Regions from separate parts of the Homo sapiens genome. Here all the other regions are linked to region 1. Evidence: promoter capture Hi-C in 16 types of primary human blood cells and fetal thymus (Javierre and others, 2016). All regions are on one chromosome and are shown on one strand. Each heading gives the region's core, a stretch centred on a gene start or on the middle of the fragment in contact. The rest is flanking DNA. Distances are from core to core; before and after follow the strand shown. Region 1 holds the start of ENAM (enamelin). Region 2 has its middle 94 kb from the start of SLC4A4. Region 3 has its middle 52 kb from the start of DCK. Region 4 has its middle 2.8 kb from the start of DCK. Region 5 overlaps MOB1B (MOB kinase activator 1B). Region 6 overlaps MOB1B (MOB kinase activator 1B). Region 7 overlaps MOB1B (MOB kinase activator 1B).

Evidence for each region. Contacts are between HindIII fragments. The CHiCAGO score rates a contact against its expected background, and 5 or more counts as called.
Region 2: a contact is called between a fragment that was not itself captured here and the fragment with the promoter of ENAM in region 1, in 2 of 17 cell types (M0 macrophages and total B cells). The highest score is 5.4, in M0 macrophages.
Region 3: a fragment that was not itself captured here is called in contact with the fragment with the promoter of ENAM in region 1 in 1 of 17 cell types (naive B cells); the score reaches 6.2 in naive B cells.
Region 4: a fragment that was not itself captured here is called in contact with the fragment with the promoter of ENAM in region 1 in 1 of 17 cell types (fetal thymus); the score reaches 5.9 in fetal thymus.
Region 5: a contact is called between a fragment that was not itself captured here and the fragment with the promoter of ENAM in region 1, in 3 of 17 cell types (total CD8 T cells, fetal thymus and total CD4 T cells). The highest score is 5.4, in total CD8 T cells.
Region 6: a fragment that was not itself captured here is called in contact with the fragment with the promoter of ENAM in region 1 in 1 of 17 cell types (fetal thymus); the score reaches 6.4 in fetal thymus.
Region 7: a contact is called between a fragment that was not itself captured here and the fragment with the promoter of ENAM in region 1, in 1 of 17 cell types (monocytes). The highest score is 5.2, in monocytes.

Annotation. Positions count from the first base shown.
Region 1 is chr4:70,627,404-70,630,095 of GRCh38, forward strand. It overlaps ENAM (enamelin), which reads left to right and starts at 1,341. Exons shown (of 9, transcript NM_031889.3): 1 at 1,341-1,561; 2 at 2,038-2,151. The coding sequence starts at 2,098. The HindIII fragment of the contact is 672 bases long and covers 1,320-1,991 here.
Region 2 is chr4:71,092,160-71,094,851 of GRCh38, forward strand. It overlaps a transcript of SLC4A4 not described here. Among named protein-coding and RNA genes, the nearest start is that of SLC4A4, 94 kb to the right of the region's middle. The HindIII fragment of the contact is 2,588 bases long and covers 91-2,678 here.
Region 3 is chr4:71,043,905-71,046,596 of GRCh38, forward strand. No RefSeq gene overlaps it. Among named protein-coding and RNA genes, the nearest start is that of DCK, 52 kb to the left of the region's middle. The HindIII fragment of the contact is 3,381 bases long and covers 1-2,692 here.
Region 4 is chr4:70,989,516-70,992,207 of GRCh38, forward strand. No RefSeq gene overlaps it. Among named protein-coding and RNA genes, the nearest start is that of DCK, 2.8 kb to the right of the region's middle. The HindIII fragment of the contact is 1,907 bases long and covers 388-2,294 here.
Region 5 is chr4:70,969,692-70,972,383 of GRCh38, forward strand. MOB1B (MOB kinase activator 1B) reads left to right here. Exons shown (of 6, transcript NM_173468.4): 3 at 240-333. Among named protein-coding and RNA genes, the nearest start is that of DCK, 23 kb to the right of the region's middle. The HindIII fragment of the contact is 1,406 bases long and covers 596-2,001 here.
Region 6 is chr4:70,947,544-70,950,235 of GRCh38, forward strand. The region is part of intron 1 of MOB1B (MOB kinase activator 1B); the gene reads left to right. Among named protein-coding and RNA genes, the nearest start is that of DCK, 45 kb to the right of the region's middle. The HindIII fragment of the contact is 3,491 bases long and covers 1-2,692 here.
Region 7 is chr4:70,926,457-70,929,148 of GRCh38, forward strand. The region is part of intron 1 of MOB1B (MOB kinase activator 1B); the gene reads left to right. Among named protein-coding and RNA genes, the nearest start is that of MOB1B, 25 kb to the left of the region's middle. The HindIII fragment of the contact is 2,588 bases long and covers 28-2,615 here.

The sequences.
Region 1 (2,692 bases), core at 91-2,590:
TCCCAACAACCTATATGGGTAAGGCCAAAATCAAAAATTACCCTCTACATGAATGGGCACAGGATAGGCCAGGTCATCCAGCATCAGAACTCCCATTTCACTTCCAAGAACACACTGTAGGTCACTGTCCCGTAAGTGTCCTACCATTTGCAAATTCATCTCAATGTGCACACAATATGATAAATACTACTCAGTTTCTACAAAATCAGACAAAGGCAAGCAGGTACTTGAAGCAGATTTAACTTTGCACATCTTGGATACACATAGAGTTAAAAGATAGTCCTAGCTTCATTTAAAGTCAAATATTCTAGCACATTTTTATTATTTGTGGCACGAAATATGTGGAGCAGAGAGGCACTGAGAAATACAATGCTATTTGGCCCAAAAGGAATGACACAGCACTTCTCTGTCCTTGGAAGAACAGCACCATGGGCAACCACTGGATTAACTTATATACACAATCATACCAAGTAGGAACAGGTTTTGCCATCAAGTTCATTCATTCTTGGTTTTTAAATCCCAACATTAAAATAAGCAAACATTGCCACAACAAATGTTTTCTCTTGTGAAGCCATAAGAGAACAGGAGAATCCAAGTTAAGCAAAGATAGCAAAGCTTGCTCTTGTCAATTAAAAGTGCAATTGGCCTATCTATTTGAAAGTGAAATCTTTATTATGGAAAGTCAGATTTCAGGAAAAAAATCCATAACATAACTGTTTCATTAAATTACTCAGGTCCTATTTTCATTAAGTTGTATTATCATAATAGCTGAGAGTTCATTTGCCATTGTACCCAACTCATCTAAAATTCTGAATCCCCAGTGACTGGATTATATTTGACTTCAAAAAGAACACTATGTCCTGCTAGCCTTATGTAATACAAAGTAAATCAAGTCACTGAGTTTTCACCCATGGATATAACATTCCAGTTCATTTTAATTACATATAAAATGTATATTAAGTAAATATATATATTAGCCTGCCTTTTGATGAAGGCAACTGACTTATGACAATAGCATACAGTTAATATTCGCCTTTGTTCCTGAAATATCTTTGTTATAAACATAGTTTCTATACTTTGAAAGCCAAATTCACCAAGGGAAGCATCTTCTAAATCTTACTGCTGTAAGCTCATTTTCCTGGACTGTTATTATACGTAATAAGAGACTTGACTTGACAGCTCCTATAATAACACATTCTAAATTTTAAATTCGATGTGTGTTTTTTACCTTAAACTCTTGTGATGACAAAACCATTTTCCTCAAAGCTGATTGGTTATGCAGGTCTACAACAGTGCTTAAATGGAACCTTGCTGTGCCAAGCTTTCTGACAAGGAGGAATCTTTTTATTTTGAGCCTTTTTGATACTGAACATGATATCTGAGTGAAGAATTTTTGTTTTATTATTAAGAAATAAATGTATCTTGCTTCTTGAGATCTCCCTGGCTTCAGCAATTTGTAGTTATTTCCACTATAGACCATTAAGAATATATTTCAAAGGCAAGCTAACAAAGTTCAAGTAAAAATTATTTTTTATATATTACAGCTTCTAATTGGCATTGGGTGAGTATTAGAGATTATCAACATAAATTACATATAGTGTCAAATAATGAATTTAATTCATAGATGTTGGTTAATTCTCCTTATTGCATTCCTTCTTGTTGGTTGTATAATCATTGTATGCAGACTAATCTTCTGATAAAACTTTAAACTCCTTGGTTTATTTGGTGTATTTGTTTTTCTTGTAAGTTTTTTCCAGCCTTCTTAGACCTCCTTTACTACTGTGACTTTGTACATTTCCCCATAGTGAAGTCTAGTTTTGTCAACATCGCCCTAGAAGTATCTCAAAATACAGTGCCTGTGTCATTTCCTCTCTGATTTAGCTTTCATCCTACTTTTAAAGCAACAGAAGATTAAACTTGATTTTGTGGCCCCCTAATACAGGTATGACTGGATAAAATAATTAACATGACATGTGCTGCCTTAGAACTGAAGCTTTGCTATTCATTTCATTTATTTGTTCCATTTCTATATTTTAGTTTCTTCTCAGGTTAAAGCTGTATTTTTCTTAAAGGCTTATAAAAATTTTGCTGAAAAAAATGTTGGTGCTTCGGTGCAGGCTTGGAACCTCTTTTCCTAAACTAGATAACTTGGTGAGTACTTTCATTTATTTTTGCCAATACATACAGGTTCTCAAACTAGATACTGTCAGAAATACACTTGAGAGGGCCAAACACTACTGAAATGTATCAGAAGACTCAAAGAGCATCTGCTTTCACAGATGGAATGGAAGAAGAACTTACACAGTCATTGTACTTTGTGGCAATCATTATGAGTGTTACTTTCAACTCAAAAAATAACTAATTATAGACTTTAATCACTAACTTTTAGAGATGGAAGGGATCTCAGTCATCCAACATAATATATTAATTTTACAAAAGAGAAAATGAGTTTTCTATTTGCAAATATAAAGGCTACATATATTATCAAGAATCACTGTGACAGCTACTAGAGAGATGAGATGAATGATTAAGCAAGGCAGAAATTAACCATCCAAAAGCACCCTTAAATCTTGGGCCATAATCTTAGAAACATTTAGCAAAGAAAGCTTTCACCAGTATTCTCTTTATTAGTTTCCACATATTGTTGTAACCTATACTAAACACTCTAAAATAACATTCAGCTGTTATTTTC
Region 2 (2,692 bases), core at 135-2,634, 460 kb after region 1:
GATAATGTAAACATGTAAACAGGAACTGGCAAACTGTTCAGTAAGGATCACTGGACTGCAATTTCTATTCTAAAGCTCATTTTAAGTAGAAGCTTCTCTTAACTTAGAGAAGTAAAATTCATATGGTTGATGGATTTCAATAGATTTCTCTCTTTTTATATTTCACTAGGATTCTATTTTTCCTACATTTTCTTATACAAACTTTTTCATGTTGACAGATATTTTAAAAATGAATATTGATATTTACATATTCCAAACCCTAGTAAGAATTAGTAGATAAATTTATAGAAGTTCATAAGGAGATATTTGTCGAGACAGTTTCCTATACATTTTCTAGGAAGAAATATTTGATTTTAAGTATTTTGGGGGTTACTGGGAATTTGCACGTCATGTTACATCAGAAAAAACACTGCAAAAACCTAAAAACAGAATGCTGAGAATAGAACCTGAAAGGAGGGCAAGAAGAAGAGATTCTTACATGGGTTTAGGTAATTTGAGGTATCATACTATCACTAAGAGTTTTTGTATTATTTGAGATACATCAAGTAATTGTTATTTTTCTTTTTACAGATACCCATAATTGTGTTGTAACTTCTTCTGGCTATAAACCTGAGCACTGATGCTTGACCTATTGTAAGTAAGAAAGTCATATATGGGCCGGGTACAGTGGCTCACGCCTGTAATCCCAGCACTTTGGGAGGCCGAGGCTGGCAGATCACAAGGTCAAGAGATCACGACCACCCTGGCCAACATGGTGAAACCCCATCTCTACTAAAAATACAAAAATTAGCTGGGCGTGGTGGCGTGCGCCTGTAGTCCCAGCTACTCGGGAGGCTGAGGCAGGAGAATCACTTGAACTCAGGAGGCGGAGGTTGCAGTGAACCGAGATCACGCCACTGCACTCCAGCCTGGGTAACAGAGTGAGACTTTGTCTCAAAAATAAAAATAAAATAAAGTCATATATGGCAAAAACCAGTCTTGTATTTTGACCTCTTTTGTTTTTTCTTTTCTTTTTTTCCTTTTTCTTGAGACAGAGTCTTGCTCTATCACCAGGCTGGAGTGCACTGGCGTCATCTTGGCTCACTGCAATCTCTACCTCCCAGGTTCAAGCAATTCTCCTGCCTCAGCCTCCCGAGTAGCTGGGACTACAGGCATGCACCACCATTCCCAGCTAATTTTTGTATTTTCAGTAGAGACAGGGTTTCACCATGTTGGCCAGGCTGGTCTTGAACTCCTGACCTCAAGTGATCTGCCTGTCTCGGCTTCTCAAAGTGCGGGGATTACAGGCGTGAGCCACTGCATTGGCCTATTTTTACCTCCTTTCTGTCTTTACTTTAAGAAAAAAAGATTTAAATCATAAATAGTTAGGGATAGAAAAACCTTTTTGTTCTGTAAGTGAATATCCTGACTTGTTTTGAATTGATAAACTGCCTAAGTTTAGCTTCAGCAATTTAAACTCCCAGAGTTCTTCTTGTGATACTGGTGGGTACTCAATAAATGATTGCTATTGTTGTTGTTGGTAAAATAGGTGAAAAATGAGCGTGGAGATGCATTTTCCCCCTTTGTGTCTTGATATTAAAGTTTTTCTTTTCAAACCATTATAGGGACCTACCTATTTGTTGGTCTTACAATGGTGGGTCATTTTGCATCCTATTATAATTTGCTCCAAATAAAATAGTTTTTATCTTCAAATAGAAACAAACTGGAGAGAAGTAATGAGACACCATTTGGGATTGTTGGCAACTTTAAATGTTCGAAAAATGAAGTCACAAAAGCAGGAGAACAAAAAGCCTCACCCTGGCTGATGAGATTATTTAACCAGCAGTTGGTGTTGGCACCAGATTATCAGCCAGACTGTTAAAAAAAAAAGTGCTAGGGGCTGGTAACCCTGTCCTCTGTGGGAAAAAAATCTAAAATATGTCCCTTATTAAACATTTTGGTACACAGATTTCCCTTATGAATTTCTGATTAGAAGAAAATATGAGGATATGGCATGGTAAGCCACGAGTGGCATACAGTCATAAAATGTAGTGGTCATCTTCAAGGGAGTTTTATCTTTTGACAATATCAAGTTTTGTTTCATCAGGGTGTCTTGTCCTGCCTGGTTCAAATCACCTATGGCTCACATATTGATGATCAGAGAGAGAGAGATTCCAGGGAAAATGTATTGGAAAAGTACTTCTAAGAGCTTCTCCAGAGTAGAGTGGCATGTACAGATCCTTTTCCAAATACTAAGCACTGTGTGTCTATTTTTGGCATTACATTATAAATAGGCCTCCTGCTTATTGTGATACAGGAAAAATACTTTCAAGGAGATTTACATTCAGCTCTACCATGTTGTAATATTTAAGGCTGCAGTACTTTTATAGGTAATGCTAATTTGCTGGTGAGGTTTATTAGCTTTGTGAGTCTCAGCTGGTAGATGTAAGGATATGTAGTTAGGGGAAGCTCTAGGATTTTCTTTGACAAATCCCAATATGTTAACAGGAAATATTAGCCACATGCAGTATGGCTAATAAAGTTCTCTATTCCTTGTTTTTTAAAAAATATACCATTTCACACTTTTGGGGGATTACCAGAAGCTGGATGTTTTGTGTTAAAGTATGTGTGTGGTTCACGAGTCCTCATTTTTCCAGGACAAGAAAGGTCTCTCTGTCTTCTCCTGCAGTCTTCAGTGAAGCTTCAGAGCCAA
Region 3 (2,692 bases), core at 142-2,641, 420 kb after region 1:
AGAATGGCTGTTATCAAAAAGATGAAAGACTACATGTGCTGGTGAAGATGTGGAGAAGGGAGAACCTTTGTAAACGGTTGATGGGAATGTAAATTAATACAGCCATTATGTAAAATTATGGGGTTTCCTCAGAATACTAAAAATAGAATTACTACATGATGGGGATTGATCTAAGATGGCCAATTAGAAGCAGCTGTGGTCTGCAGCACTCATGGAGAGGAATGAAGAAGGGTGAGTGAATTCAGCACCTTCAACTGAAATATTCAGGTTCTTGCATTGGGACTGCTAGACAACCCAATACAGAGAAGGAAGAAAAGTGGGGGGTGGGGAAGGTGATGGCCCACCTGGGAGTGGCACAAAGCCAAAGGAATCCCCACCCCCAGCCAAGGGAAGCAGTGAGTTATTGTGCGACTACTCTTAGGAAACCACACTTCTCCCACGAATCTTTGCAGCCTGCATGCATTAGTCCGTTGGCGGCTCACACCTGTAATCCCAGCACTTTGGGAGGCCAAGGCGGGCAGATCACGAGGTCAAGAGATCGAGACCATCCTAGCTAACATGGTGAAACCCCGTCTCTACTAAAAATACAAAAATTAGCTGGGTGTGGTGCCACACGCCTGTAGTCCCAGCTACTTGGGAGGCTGAGGCAGGAGAATCGCTTGAACCCGGGAAGGGGAGGTTGCAGTAAGCCAAGATGAGGCCACTACTCCAGCCTGGCAACAGAGTGAGACTCTGTCTCAAAAAGAAAAAAAAAAAGAAGAAAGAAATACCCCCGAGACTGGGGAATTTATAAAGGAAGGAGATTTAATTGACTCACAGTTCCTCCTGGCTAGGGAGCCCTCAGACAGCTTACCACCATGGTGGAAAGGGAAACAGGCACCTTTTCCACAGGTGACAGGAGGGAGAAGTGAGAGCACAGGTAAAAACTACCACTTTCAAAACCATTAGAGTTCATGAGAATTCACTCACTGTCACAAGAACAGCACGATCTTGTGATTCTACCACCCTCATGATCCAACCACTTTCCTTCAACATGTGGGGATTACAGGTCCCTTCCTCGATATGGGGGGATTATAATTCAAGATGAGATTTGGGCAGGGACACAGAAGCAAATAATATCACTGTGGATAAGGAGATCCCCTCATGAGCCCACGCCACCAGGGCCTTGGGTCTGATACACAGAGCTGTGTGAAGTCTTGGCAGAGCACCTGCTTACATATAGAGACCCAGGAGTTTTACATATTCCGGCCCTGGGATCTCCAGCAAGGCAGGAAATTCATCCGTACATATCCCTGGGAAGGGGAGACTGAATCCAGGGAGCCAAGCAATGTCGTTCTATGGGCCCCACTTCCACAGCACCTCACAAATTAAGACTCACTGGCTTGGAATCCCAGCCAGCCAATGGCAGCGGGTTGAAATCCACCTGAGATGGGTCCAAGTTCCCAGGGGAATGGGTGGCTGCCATCTCTGCGGTTCCATCAACTTAGCTTCTCTAGCCTGCTGACTGTGGAGAATACAGACAGTCTGGGAGGAAGGGTCCCCCATAGTGCAGCACAGCTGCCTTGCCAGATTGTGGCCAGACTGCTTTAAGCAGCACCTGGATCCATTTCTCCTCACTGAGCAGGATCTCCCTGCAGGAGCTTCAACGACTCCAGCTAGGGTTCTATGGACAGAGCTCTGATCTCTCCCTGGGATGGAGCTCCTGTGAGGAGGGGTGGATGTCATCTCTGCGGTTTGGTGGACTCAGCCACTCCAGCCTGTCAGCTTTGGAGATTGCAGGCAGTTTGGATGAGGAAGTGTGCCCCTTAATGCAGCACAACTGCTCTACCAAAAAACAGCCAGACTGCTTCTTTGGGCAGGTCCCTGATCCCATTCCTTCTGACTGGGTGAGACCTCCCAATGGGGGTTTCCAGACATCTCCTATAGGTGCGTGCAGGCTGGCAACAGGTCAGTACCCCCTGGGATAGAGCTTCCAGAGAAAGGATCTGGCTGTCATCTTTGCTGTTTCATGGCCTTTGCTGGTGATACCTCCAGGTACGGGAGAATGAGGCAACTGGGGTATGGAGCGGACCCCCAGCAAACCACAGCAGCCCTATGGTAGAGTGGGCTGACTGTTAAAACAAACAAACAGACACAAAACAACAACAATGACAAAGACCCCACAAAAACCTCATTCACCATGTCAGAAACCTCAAAGATTGAAGGTAGATAAGCCCACAAAGATGAGAAAGAATCAATGCAAACATGCTGAAAACTCAAAAGGCCAGAGTGCCTTTTCTTCTCCAAATGACCACAACACCTCTCCAGCAAGGGCACAGAACTAGGCTGAGACTGAGATGGTTGAATTGACAGAAGTAGGCTTCAGAGGTGTGTAATCATGAATTTCACTGGGCTAAAGGAGCATGCTGTAACCCAAAGCAAAGAAGCTAGGAATCATGATAAAACAATACAGGAGTTGATAGCCAGAATAGCCAGTTTAGAGAGGAACATAGCCAACCCAATGGAGTCGAAAAACACAACACAAGACCTTCACAATGCAATCACAAGTATCAATAGCAGAATAGACCAAGTGGAGGAAAGAATCTTAGAGCTTGAAGACTCTTTCTGAAATAAGACAGAGAAGAATAGAGAAAAAAGAATGAAAAGGAATGAACAAAACCCCCAAGAAATATAGCATTATGTAAAGATACCA
Region 4 (2,692 bases), core at 91-2,590, 360 kb after region 1:
ATGTATTATAAGTTGTTAATCCCTTATATAACATCTGCAATGAGCATTTTGCAACACAAAGATTCTAATTAATTATTCCTCTAAGGTTTAAACAACCATGTTTAGTAGAAGTTTTACTAAGAAATTGTACATGCTCCTGTTACAGCATGATGAATACAGTGTCACATTTTCTTGATGACCTCAGTCCACTTCACAAGCATGTAGTAAAACAGCTTTCTTTGCTAAGCTGTATACATCTGATGGCTCCTATGCTCTTCTAGTATGTTATTTTGCTTTCAGATTTCAGATTTGCAGGAAGCACACTGACTCCCACTCTTGCATTTATGATGGCTTCTGTACCCCGTTTTCTAGGCACTAATGAAGATTACAAGGGGAAATTTATAACCAAGCTTATTAAGTTGATAAATATCATTTTACAGAAGTAGTTGAGTTTGTGTAGACAAACTCATGGGCTGTGTAACCACTACTTAATGTTCAGGGTCTCTTATTTTTTCTGCTTTTTATTATTTTCTGGGTTGATTTAGTTTTCCTAATAAACCTGTATGTTGTCAGTCAGAACGCTGTCTCATTCTTTAGTTACACTAGAATTCCCACAGGAGAAAATTCCCAAATTGAAGGAGTAGTAAAATTTCTGGTAAGAAAGGATTAGGTGGCAGCACGATCATGACTGGCTGGGTGCGCTGTATCCTGTCTCTTATCTGCAGTTTCAAAACCTGAAAAGCTCAGAAAACCAAAATTTTTTTGTTTGTTTTTTTGAGACGGGGTCTCACTCTCATCCAGGCTGGAGTGCAGTGGCATGATCTTGGCTTAATGCAACTTCCGCCTCCCGGGTGCAAGCGATTCTCCAGCTTCAGCCTCCCGAGTAGCTGGGACCACAGGCACACACCACCACGCCCGGCTAGTTTTTGTATCTTTAGTAGAGACAGGGTTTCGCCATGTTGGCCAGGTTGGTCTCGAACTCCTGAACTCAGGTAATCTGTCCATCTCGGCCTCCCACAGTGTTGGGATTACAGGCGTGAGCCACCGTGCTTGGCCCCAAAGGTATTTTTTTTGAATTCAGTGCAAACTTATTCTGACCAGATGTTAATAGTCTTTATCCCACTTCATGTTAACACTCTTTGTTTCACTGCAAAATATTAGTGCATTTGATTTAACACCTCTGCAGGGGGAGTGGGGGTGCTTACTTAATAATTAATATACAGTATATGCACTGTATCGTTTCTAAAGTTTCGATTCCAAATTTTATTATTGAGACGGGGTCTTGCTGCTGTGTCACTCAGGCTGGCATGCAGTGGCGCGATCATAGCTTACTAAAGCTAAAACTTTGCAGGCCCAAACCATCCTCCCACCTCAGCCTCCTGAGTAGCTGGGACCACAGGTGTGTGCCACCACAACCAGCTAATTTTTGTATTTTTTCTATTAGTTTCGCCATGTTTCCCTGGTTGGTCTCGAATTCCTGAGCTCAAGCATTCCAGAGTACCTCCCAAAGTGCTGGGATTATAGGCAAGAGCCACTGCGTCCAGCCAGTTCCAAAGTTTAGAATTTCTTTTCTAAAAATCTTTTCTAAAAGTTTTAAATTCTGAAACATCTGGCTGCCAGGGTTTTAGATAAGAGATTGTGGACCAAAAATCAAGATGTTTTGAAAAGTGCTTTTCTCTGTTCTCTCCTTGTGTTACCCCCAGGTCATGTAGGAAAATGGGAAATTATGCTGGACTTAATGCCAAAAAAGCTAGATTCTTTGCTTCCCCCATTTACTTTGTTGTTGTTAGTTGAGACAGGATCTCACTGGAGTACAGTGGCATGATCTTGGCTCACTGCAGCCTTGACTCCCTGGCTTCGGTAATTCTCCCACCTCAGCCTCCCAAATAGTTGGGACTACAGGCGCCTGGCTAATTTTTCTATTTTTTGTAGAGACAAGAGTTTTGCCATGTTGCCCAGGCTAGTCTCAAACTCCTGGGCTCAAGCGATTCACCTGCCTCGGCCTCCCACATTTGTATTTTTCAAAGTATACTCTTAAGCTCAGATGAATTCAAGTTTTTGCAGCCAGAAACTGGTAGAACTGGTGTTTGAAATCTTTCATTTTCCAGTGCTTAAACTCTTCATCATTGTAAGATACTTCTTGTGTGGGTCTTTTTTGTGGAAACCACACTTGGAGATTTCTACTCCTTAACCCCAAGCCTCTTTATGACATCCATCCAGGACCAGCTCTGCTTTCCTGTTGAAGGTCTCAAGAGACTTGCCTTCCTCCTCTCGGTAGCTGCCAGTACTCTTACCATTTCATGAGTTTTCCCCCAAGCTTGGCTGTGAAATGTGATACCTATTAGCTTCCGCAGCACCTTTCTCCCAACTTCCTTGCTATACCTGATGACAACTCTTCAGGCCTCTTATATTCCTAGGATCTTGCTATTAATCACTATAGGGATAAGTAAAAGTAATATATACAAAATAATTGCATAACAGAATAATATAGGGCAGTTACATAGAATGATTCTTGCTGTTTAATCCTGGAAAATGTGATCCCCGAGGATTCACATTTTAATTTCTGCTCTTTATTTCTGAGGATGGAGTCACCGTTTTCCCCTTCTGGCTACACATTTAGATGCATTTCAGGTCTGATGATAGTTGCAATGTAAAAAAGAATAGCAAGGCCTTTGGTTTCTGTAGACAATTTGGACCAGATAACTTCCAGACT
Region 5 (2,692 bases), core at 49-2,548, 340 kb after region 1:
TGTTGTTTGTATGCGTTGCAAATAATCTCTTCATCTCTATGCTTGCCTTTTTGCTCTCAAGGGAGTCGTTTGATGAACACAAGCTCCTCATTTCAATGTATTGATACTTCTGTGTATGGTTTTCACCTGTTCTTTGTAGGGGAACGAACGCCAATAAGCCTATTCTGTTCAAGTACAATTAAAATTTCATTTTAAATTTAGCCATTCTGTTTTACTTACAACTGATACTTGCTTTACAGCTGTGGATTTCTTCAATCAGATCAACATGCTTTATGGAACTATCACAGACTTCTGTACAGAAGAGAGTTGTCCAGTGATGTCAGCTGGCCCAAAGTAAGACATAGTTAATGATCAGTTTCTTATTTTTACATTATTTTACGGTTCTTAAAGAAAAACGAAGTTTCTGACCATATGATTTTTCTACTTATCGTCTCTTTCTGAGGTTTGCCAGTGACTATTAATCTAGATTCCTTAGCTTGGGGTTTGTGACTGTCCATCTTGCCTTTCCTCTGTTTGCTTATGTGTCTTCTCTAGTCTGTCCTAACTGGATTACTGGAAATACCTTGCTGTTCCCTCCATTACGTACTTCTCTGGAAGCTTGCTTATTCTCTTCTTCTCTTGGACATTTTTCTTCTCTCCCATTTCACTCCTGTCATTTTCTGTCAATATTTCAAAAAATCTTACTGATCTTCAATTCTATTATCAAATATTTCTCTGTCAAAGCCTTCTGATTTCATCAGACTAACTTTTTTTACCTTTGTAATGAAATTTGTTTGTTATATTTCTTACACTATTCATATATGTTTTATTTAACCTGTTGGATTTGTTCTTTTAATTCCCTTTTGGTGCAAGGACAGAGCTTGCCACCTTGTTTTAACACCCAAAAAATGTGGGTTGAATCAGTACATTTTGGAAACTGGCTTTTATTATTACTTCTACTAATAATAGCAATGACAGTTACCATTTATTTAGTGGTACCTAAATGTAAGGCCTTTCATACATGTTTTTTACATCATATGTCAACATTCATTATAAGAATATTGCTCTATGCATTGCCGTAGACTCAAAGAATTTAGTCAAATGATCAAAGAGCCCGTAACAGAAGTATAATATTGTAGCTCAGGAAAAATATGGAGATACCATATGAAGAGGTAAAAGAAGTTGGCAGTTCTCAGTAAAGAGAAAGGAAGACTGCACTAGGAAAGACACAAAGCTGTGTTTGAACCTTCACTTCTTTCTAGCCCATGGAGATGAGTATAGCTGCAGAGCTATTCAAAATCTAGCGTCTGTCAATTCCCTTCCTCCATTTACACCTCTTCCTGCAGAAGTATGTTTGTGGTTTTTACCCGTCACGGGACTGTTTACTTTGGAGAAACGTCTTCTGTGGACTTTGTATGGGGTTTGTAGTTGCAGGTGCATCTTTTGTTCTCTCCTCACCCTGTTTGAACTTATATGAACTGTCACACTCCCCACCTCGCCTTTTTGAAAAGTCTAGTCAAGATAGTCCCTTTAAAAAATAATGTGGTTTAGGCTGGGCATGGTGGCTCACGCCTATAATCCCAGCACTTTGGGAGGCTGAGACTGGCAGATCATCACCTGAGATCGGGAGGTTGAGAGCAGCCTGGGCAACATAGTGAATCTCGTCTCTATTAATAATAGAAAAATTAGCTGGGCGTGGTGGTGTGCATCTGTAATCCCAGCCACTCAGGCAGGAGAATCACTTAAACCTGGGAGGTGGGGGTGAGGTTGCAGTGAGCTGAGATCGTGCCAGTGTGTGTACTCCAGCCTGAATGATAGAGTGAGACTCTGTCTCAAAAAAAAAAAAAAAAAAGTAATTTAAAGACATAGGTGTCTCCTAGTTTTATCATCAAAGCTAGAGTGTGAATTTCTGTTACTTGTTATTTCGGGAAGATTTATTAGAGGAACGGGGGCATTTAGAAATGAAATCAGTCCCCCTTTAGTATTAATTCTTGCCAGTATTACTGGTGTTCACTTTGGTTAAGCTTCACTTGTGAAAATAGATGTCTTTAATTTTTCTATTCTGTGGTTAGTTATGCCTTGAGAAATTAAATAGCACTGCCTTCTAAGAAAGCCAGTTCTTCTGGCTTGAGAGCTGTTTGTCTCTGCTCCTGTATGCATGCATGTGTGCGTACATAGTGTTAAAGCTGTGTGGTCTCCTGCCTGCGTGTCTGCTTCCCTCTCTTTCTCTTCTTTCTTCCTTCTTTCCCTTCCTTTCTCCCTCCTTCTTTCTTCTTTCTCTACGTCTCTTTTCTTCTTCCTTCTCTTCTTGTCTTTCCTCCCTCTCTTCCTTTCTCCCTTTTTTTTTTTGGGGAGAATCGTGACATTTCCCAGTCATTAGTGCTAAGAAGATGTAGTTGTTGTCATAGTTCTTCATTTTTACCAGCAGATGCAGGATTGTGCCTAGGAGAGGCATTTGTTAATACTTAATAAATGCTAAGCCCCTTGCAAAGTGGTATTGAATGATGGCTCGTAGAACTTTGTTCTCAGATACTGTTTTTTTATTTTTATTTTATTTTTTTGAGACAGAATCTTGCTCTGTTGCCCAGGCTAGAGTGCAGTGGTGCGATCTTGGCTTACTGCAACCTCTGCATCCTAGGTTCAAGAGATCTTCCCTGCCTCAACCTCTTGAGTAGCTGGGATTACAGGTGCATGCCACCATACCCGGCTATTT
Region 6 (2,692 bases), core at 109-2,608, 320 kb after region 1:
TGTATGTGATCGGCAAAGATTTGCTGCTAGTCGGTGGCTTGATATTTGACCTTCTTTACAGTGTCTTTCATAGAGCAGAATTTTATTTATTTATTTATTTTGAAGCAGGGTCTCACTCTGTTGCCCAGGCTGGAGTGCAGTGGCACAATCTTGGCTCACTGCAGCCTCAACACCCCTAGGCTCCTGCCTCAGCCTCCTGAGTAGCTGGGGCAGCAGGTGTGTGCCACCACACCCAGATAATTTTTTGTAGAGATAGGGTTTCAACATATTGCCCAGGCTGGTCTTGAACTTCTGAGATGAAGTGATCTGCCTACCTTGGCCTCCCAGAATGCTGGGATTACTGCCGTGCACCACTGTACCCAGCCACAGAGAAGAATTTTAAACTTTAATGAAGTCTAATTTATCAGTATTTTCTTTCATAAGATGCTTTTTTATATCTAGAAACTCATCACCAAATTCAAGGTCACATAGATTTTCTTCTATGTTTTCTTCTAGAAGTTTTATAGTATTGTGTTGTAGTTTTAGGTCTATCATCTAATTCATGTTAAGTTTTGTGAAAGGTGCAAGATCTGTGTCTAGATTTATGTTTTTGCCTCTGGATGTCCCAGTGTCCCAAGTAGTAGAGAACTACCACTTGTTGAAAAGATCATCCTTTCCCCATTGAATTGCCTTTCCTCTTTTGTCAGTATCAGTTGACTCTATTTGTATGGTCCACTGTTCACTTTTATAATGACAATTATATTTTTCTTTGTGCCTTAAAAAATGCTTAATTGAGACGTAGTCACATACCTTACAAATCGCCCGTTTAGAGTGCACTGTTTAATACAGTTTTTTAGTAACCATCTCCACAGTCAATTATATTAAAAAGTCAACTTTTTAATCTTACCAGAATTCTTTAATTTTTCAGTTCCCCTCACTGTGGTTAATATCTCTCGACTTGACACCACTTGCTTAAGGAGAACTTCAGCTTCTCCATCCTTCCCTAATTGTTTCTTTTCATAATTGCCTGTTTTTTGAATATAATAGTGTCTCTGTTATTTCTAAAGATACTGATTATATTTAGTATGTTCTTCTTGGTTTTTGTTAGCATTAGATATATTGTTGAGTAGTTCTTTCATGGTGTTGGTTTTCCTGGAATATTTAGTGATTTGGGATTGTCTGCTCAACTTGAGTGTTTGAGGATATTGGTTTGCTTCTTGGTGAATATACTGATTATGGGAGCATACCTCTGGTGACAGGAAGGAGTAGGAACTGCTGCCTAATGTATAGAGGTATGCCAGTAAGTTCTCTTTTGACTGCCAAGTTCCCCTGCCTGCTGGGGTGGTGGTTAAAATCCCTCCCTCCACCATGCTCTGAGCTTCAGCTTAGGCTGTGCTTGCCTACTTCTCAGAAAAAGGCCACTCAGAAGGGTATTGGGATTCACTTGTGCAAAGATCCTGGGTCAAGTTCGCCTATAATCTTCTGGAGATCCCCTCAGGGTCCTCTCCCGTAGTCTAGATTCTGAGTTTGGAGCACAGCAGAATCACTCTTACCTTCATAGAGACCTCTACTGGGCATATCTATGCTAGGTTTTCTCAGACTTCTCAGTCACTATGTCTCATTAACTTTTTAATCTTATAAGAATTCCTCGATTTCTGAACTGCGGATAGCAGATAGTGTTCTTTCTTTTTTTCCAGCCGAGTTAAGGATTTCTTACTCACTTAATGGTAACAATAGTAGCAATACCACCTGCCACTAATAATAGTGATTTAAAAGGGATTATAGGCAGAAATGTAAGTAGATATGTCTGTTCAGACTGCTGTCTGTCTTGAAACAAGGTTATCTTTTCAATACTCATAGCTTTTAGCCTTTAGCTTTTAGTCTTATTATTTCTAGAACACATTCTATTTTGACAGCTTCTAACATTTTTTGCAGATGCATGTCTGCCTTTCTGAAAGCGTGGATGAAAGCCAAATGGCAACATTTGGGGGAAATTGGTGTAGGGTGGAATTTTACTTTTTCTTACTGGCAGAGTATGTGCTAAGTATTCATATAAATTAGAGATGGTATAGGAGGGGAATTAGGTGGTTTGAAGATTAAGATGTATCTATTCCCAGCACTTTGGGTGGTGGGGATGGGGGGATCACTTGAGCCCAGGAGTTTGAGACTAGCCAGGGCAACAAAGTGAGACTTCCTCTCTATAAAAAAATACAACAACAAAATAATTAGCTGGACATGGTGGCGTGAACCTGTGGTCCCAACTACTTGGGAGGCCGAGGTGGAAGGCTAAGGTAGAAAGATCGTTTGAGCTCAGGAAGTTGAGGCTGCAGTGAGCTGTGTTTGTGTCACTGCACTCCAGCCTAGGGGACAGAGTGAACCCTGTCTTCAAAAAAATACATAAATAAAATTACAAAGGGGTGGAGACAAGGGTAAGGAAAAAAGAATGTTTTAAAAATAAGAAAAAAAAGGTGCCTATTAATAACTCTCTTGGTATAAATTAGCCTTGTGTTGTTCGTGAATGACTTGATTAAAATGTGGTGAAAAAGGGAGAAAATTATTAGAAATAATTGGGTAGAAGCTAAAGGTAAAGCATTGAGTAATGTTGGGTAGTGGGTAAAAGTATGGGCTTTAGGCCGAGTGCTGTGGCTCACGCCTGTAATCCCAGCACTTTGGGAGGCTGAGATGGGCAGATCTCCTGAGGTCAGGAGTTCGA
Region 7 (2,692 bases), core at 72-2,571, 300 kb after region 1:
AGACTTGAATGACAGAATGTATATGAAAGCTTTTCATAAACCAGAGTCCTGTATAAACACTGTCATTATCTCCACTCATGAAATTCCCAAGCCCAGTGTATAAACTGTTTGTGCATTCCAGTTTTTTGTTTAGCTGTCTTACAAATGTATGGCATTATTGCATAATAAAATGAACATTTATTGAACACCTCCTGTGTGTAAAAGCGAAGTGTTAGGTGCTTGCTGGTGGTGGGAGGAGAAAGGAAGGGGTTTAGAAATAAACAAGATGTGCCGGGCGCAGTGGCTCACGCCTGTAATCCCAGCATTTTGGGAGGTGGATCATGAGGTCAGGAGATCGAGACCATCCTGGCTAACACGGTGAAACCCCGTCTCTACTAAAAATACAAAAAAATTAGCCGGGCGTGGTGGTGGGCGCCTGTAGTCCCATCTACTTGGGAGGCTGAGGCAGGAGAATGGCGCAAACTCAGGAGGTGGAGCTTACAGTGAGCCGAGATTGTGACACTGCACTCCGGCCTGGGCAACAGAGCAAGACTCCGTCTCAAAAAAGAAAAAAAAAAAAAGAAATAAGATGCGGTCTCTGTCCTCAAGAATCTTAGCACTGGAGACCAGCGTGTTACATAGATGTGCTCCTTAATGGTTGTTTTAAACTCTCAGTTCCAAGTCCACTGGCTAATGATGGTTAAAGACCCTTGCACTGCAAGATATTGCATTGAGTATACAAACTTTCTTGGGTGTATGTGTGAAATAATTGCAGTCTGTGTTCATCAAAAATTAGGAATATAAAGAAAAAAATTGCTGTCAGCCAGGCGCAGTGGCTCATGCCTGTAATCCCAGCACTTTGGGAGGCTAAGGTGGGCAGATCATCTGAGATCAGGAGTTCGAGACCAGCCTGGCCAACATGATGAAACCCCCGTCTCTACTAAAAATACAATAATTAGCCAGGCATGGTGGCACTCGCCTGTAATCCCAGCTACTTGGGAGGCTGAGGCAGGAGAATCGCTTGAACCTGGGAGGCGGAGGTTGCAGTGAGCTGAGATCATGCCACTGTACCCCAGCCTGGGCAACAGAGTGAGAATCTGTCTCAAAAAAAAAAAAATTGCCGTCAATACCACAGTTATAAATATGTGTAGTGCATTCACCTATTCAAAACAGCAAGAATTTTGCCGAATTGAGCTTCCGGTTTTTAGTCAGATGCTGTTTTTATTGTGTGGATGCGGGGGCCTCCCCTGCTTGTTCTTGGCATTGCTGCCACTGCTGTTCCACTTTAGCATCTTGGTTTTTAACATGGAGGGGAAGTGGTAGGAATCCTTCGGTGCACTCGCTTCCTGTAGTTCACTTGGGCATTTCAGGTAGATATTGGAATGGGCTGGAAGTGGTCTGCAAAACTCCAAGGCATAGAAGGCCTCCCTGAGATGTTTGCTTACCACTCCAGCCTCATCCGTGCCTTCCTGCTCTAACATCCCTCCCCCACAGTGTTCAGTGATTTTATTTGCATTTCTCTCAACCTGCTTTGCTCCATCTTTCTGCCTTTGTAAATGCCGTTCCTGTTATTCTGGCTGTTATTCTTCTCCTCCCCACCCCCATTTCTTTAGCTCAGGAGCCAACTTTTTCCCTGGCCTGTGCCCCCTTCCCAGTTTGTTAGATACCATTTCAGTGCCCTTTATAGTCCTTATCATAGTCCTTTCCAAAAAGACATTGTACTCCACCCACTGTCATGTGTATGATCTCTTTGAAGATGGGGCATTTTCAAAAAATGTTTGTTTTAAATCTCTACCACCTAGCATAGTGCCTCTTAGTAACAATTTTTTTTCCTGACTAATCAATGACATTTTCAAGAATTTTGTTTTTTTTTTTTTTGAGATGGAGTCTTGCTGTGTCACCTAGGCTGGAATGCAGTAGTGTGATCTCGGCCCACTGCACCCTCTGCCTCCCGGGTTCAAGCGATTCTCCTGCTTCAGCCTCTTGAGTAGCTGGGATTACAGGCGCGTGCCACCATGCCCGGCTAATTTTTTGTATTTTTAGTAGAGATGGAGTTTCACCATGTTGTTCAGGCTGGTCTCGAACTCTTGACCTCGTGATCCACCGCCTCAGCCTCCCAAAGTGCTGGAATTACAGGTATGAGCCACCACACGTGGCCTGACATTTTCAAGAATTTCATCACGGGTGGTGAGAGTATGAGTGATTCTCCTCAGTCTGTTGTATGTTTTTCCATTGTAAAGATTTTAGGGAAAATATTAAAAGGTGGCTACTGTGCACAGAAGAGTTTAGAATACCTATTTATTGGATTTTTATAATAAAAAAACTTTTTTTTAATAGACACGGGGTCTTGCTATGTTACCTAGGCTTGTCTTGAACTCCTAGGTTCAAGTGATCCTCCCACCTTGGCCTCCCAAAATGCCGATATTACTGGCGTGAGCCCCTGCACTCAGCCTTATTTATTGTATCTTTATCACATAGTTTTGTAGAGACCTTCTTTACAGGATTGTCATATACCAGGCACAAGTTTCCTATTTTCCAATGTGCCCTGTAAATTGTGTTCCCTCTACCAGGGAATGAGAGTGCTCATTTCCCTGCATTCCCACTATCATTGCATCATTAAGAAAAAGAGTCATGAAAGCTTCTTGGACTTTTAAAATTAATGCCAAATAAACAAGATAATAGTAAAGGTACTTCCAAATAATTTCTGTCCCCT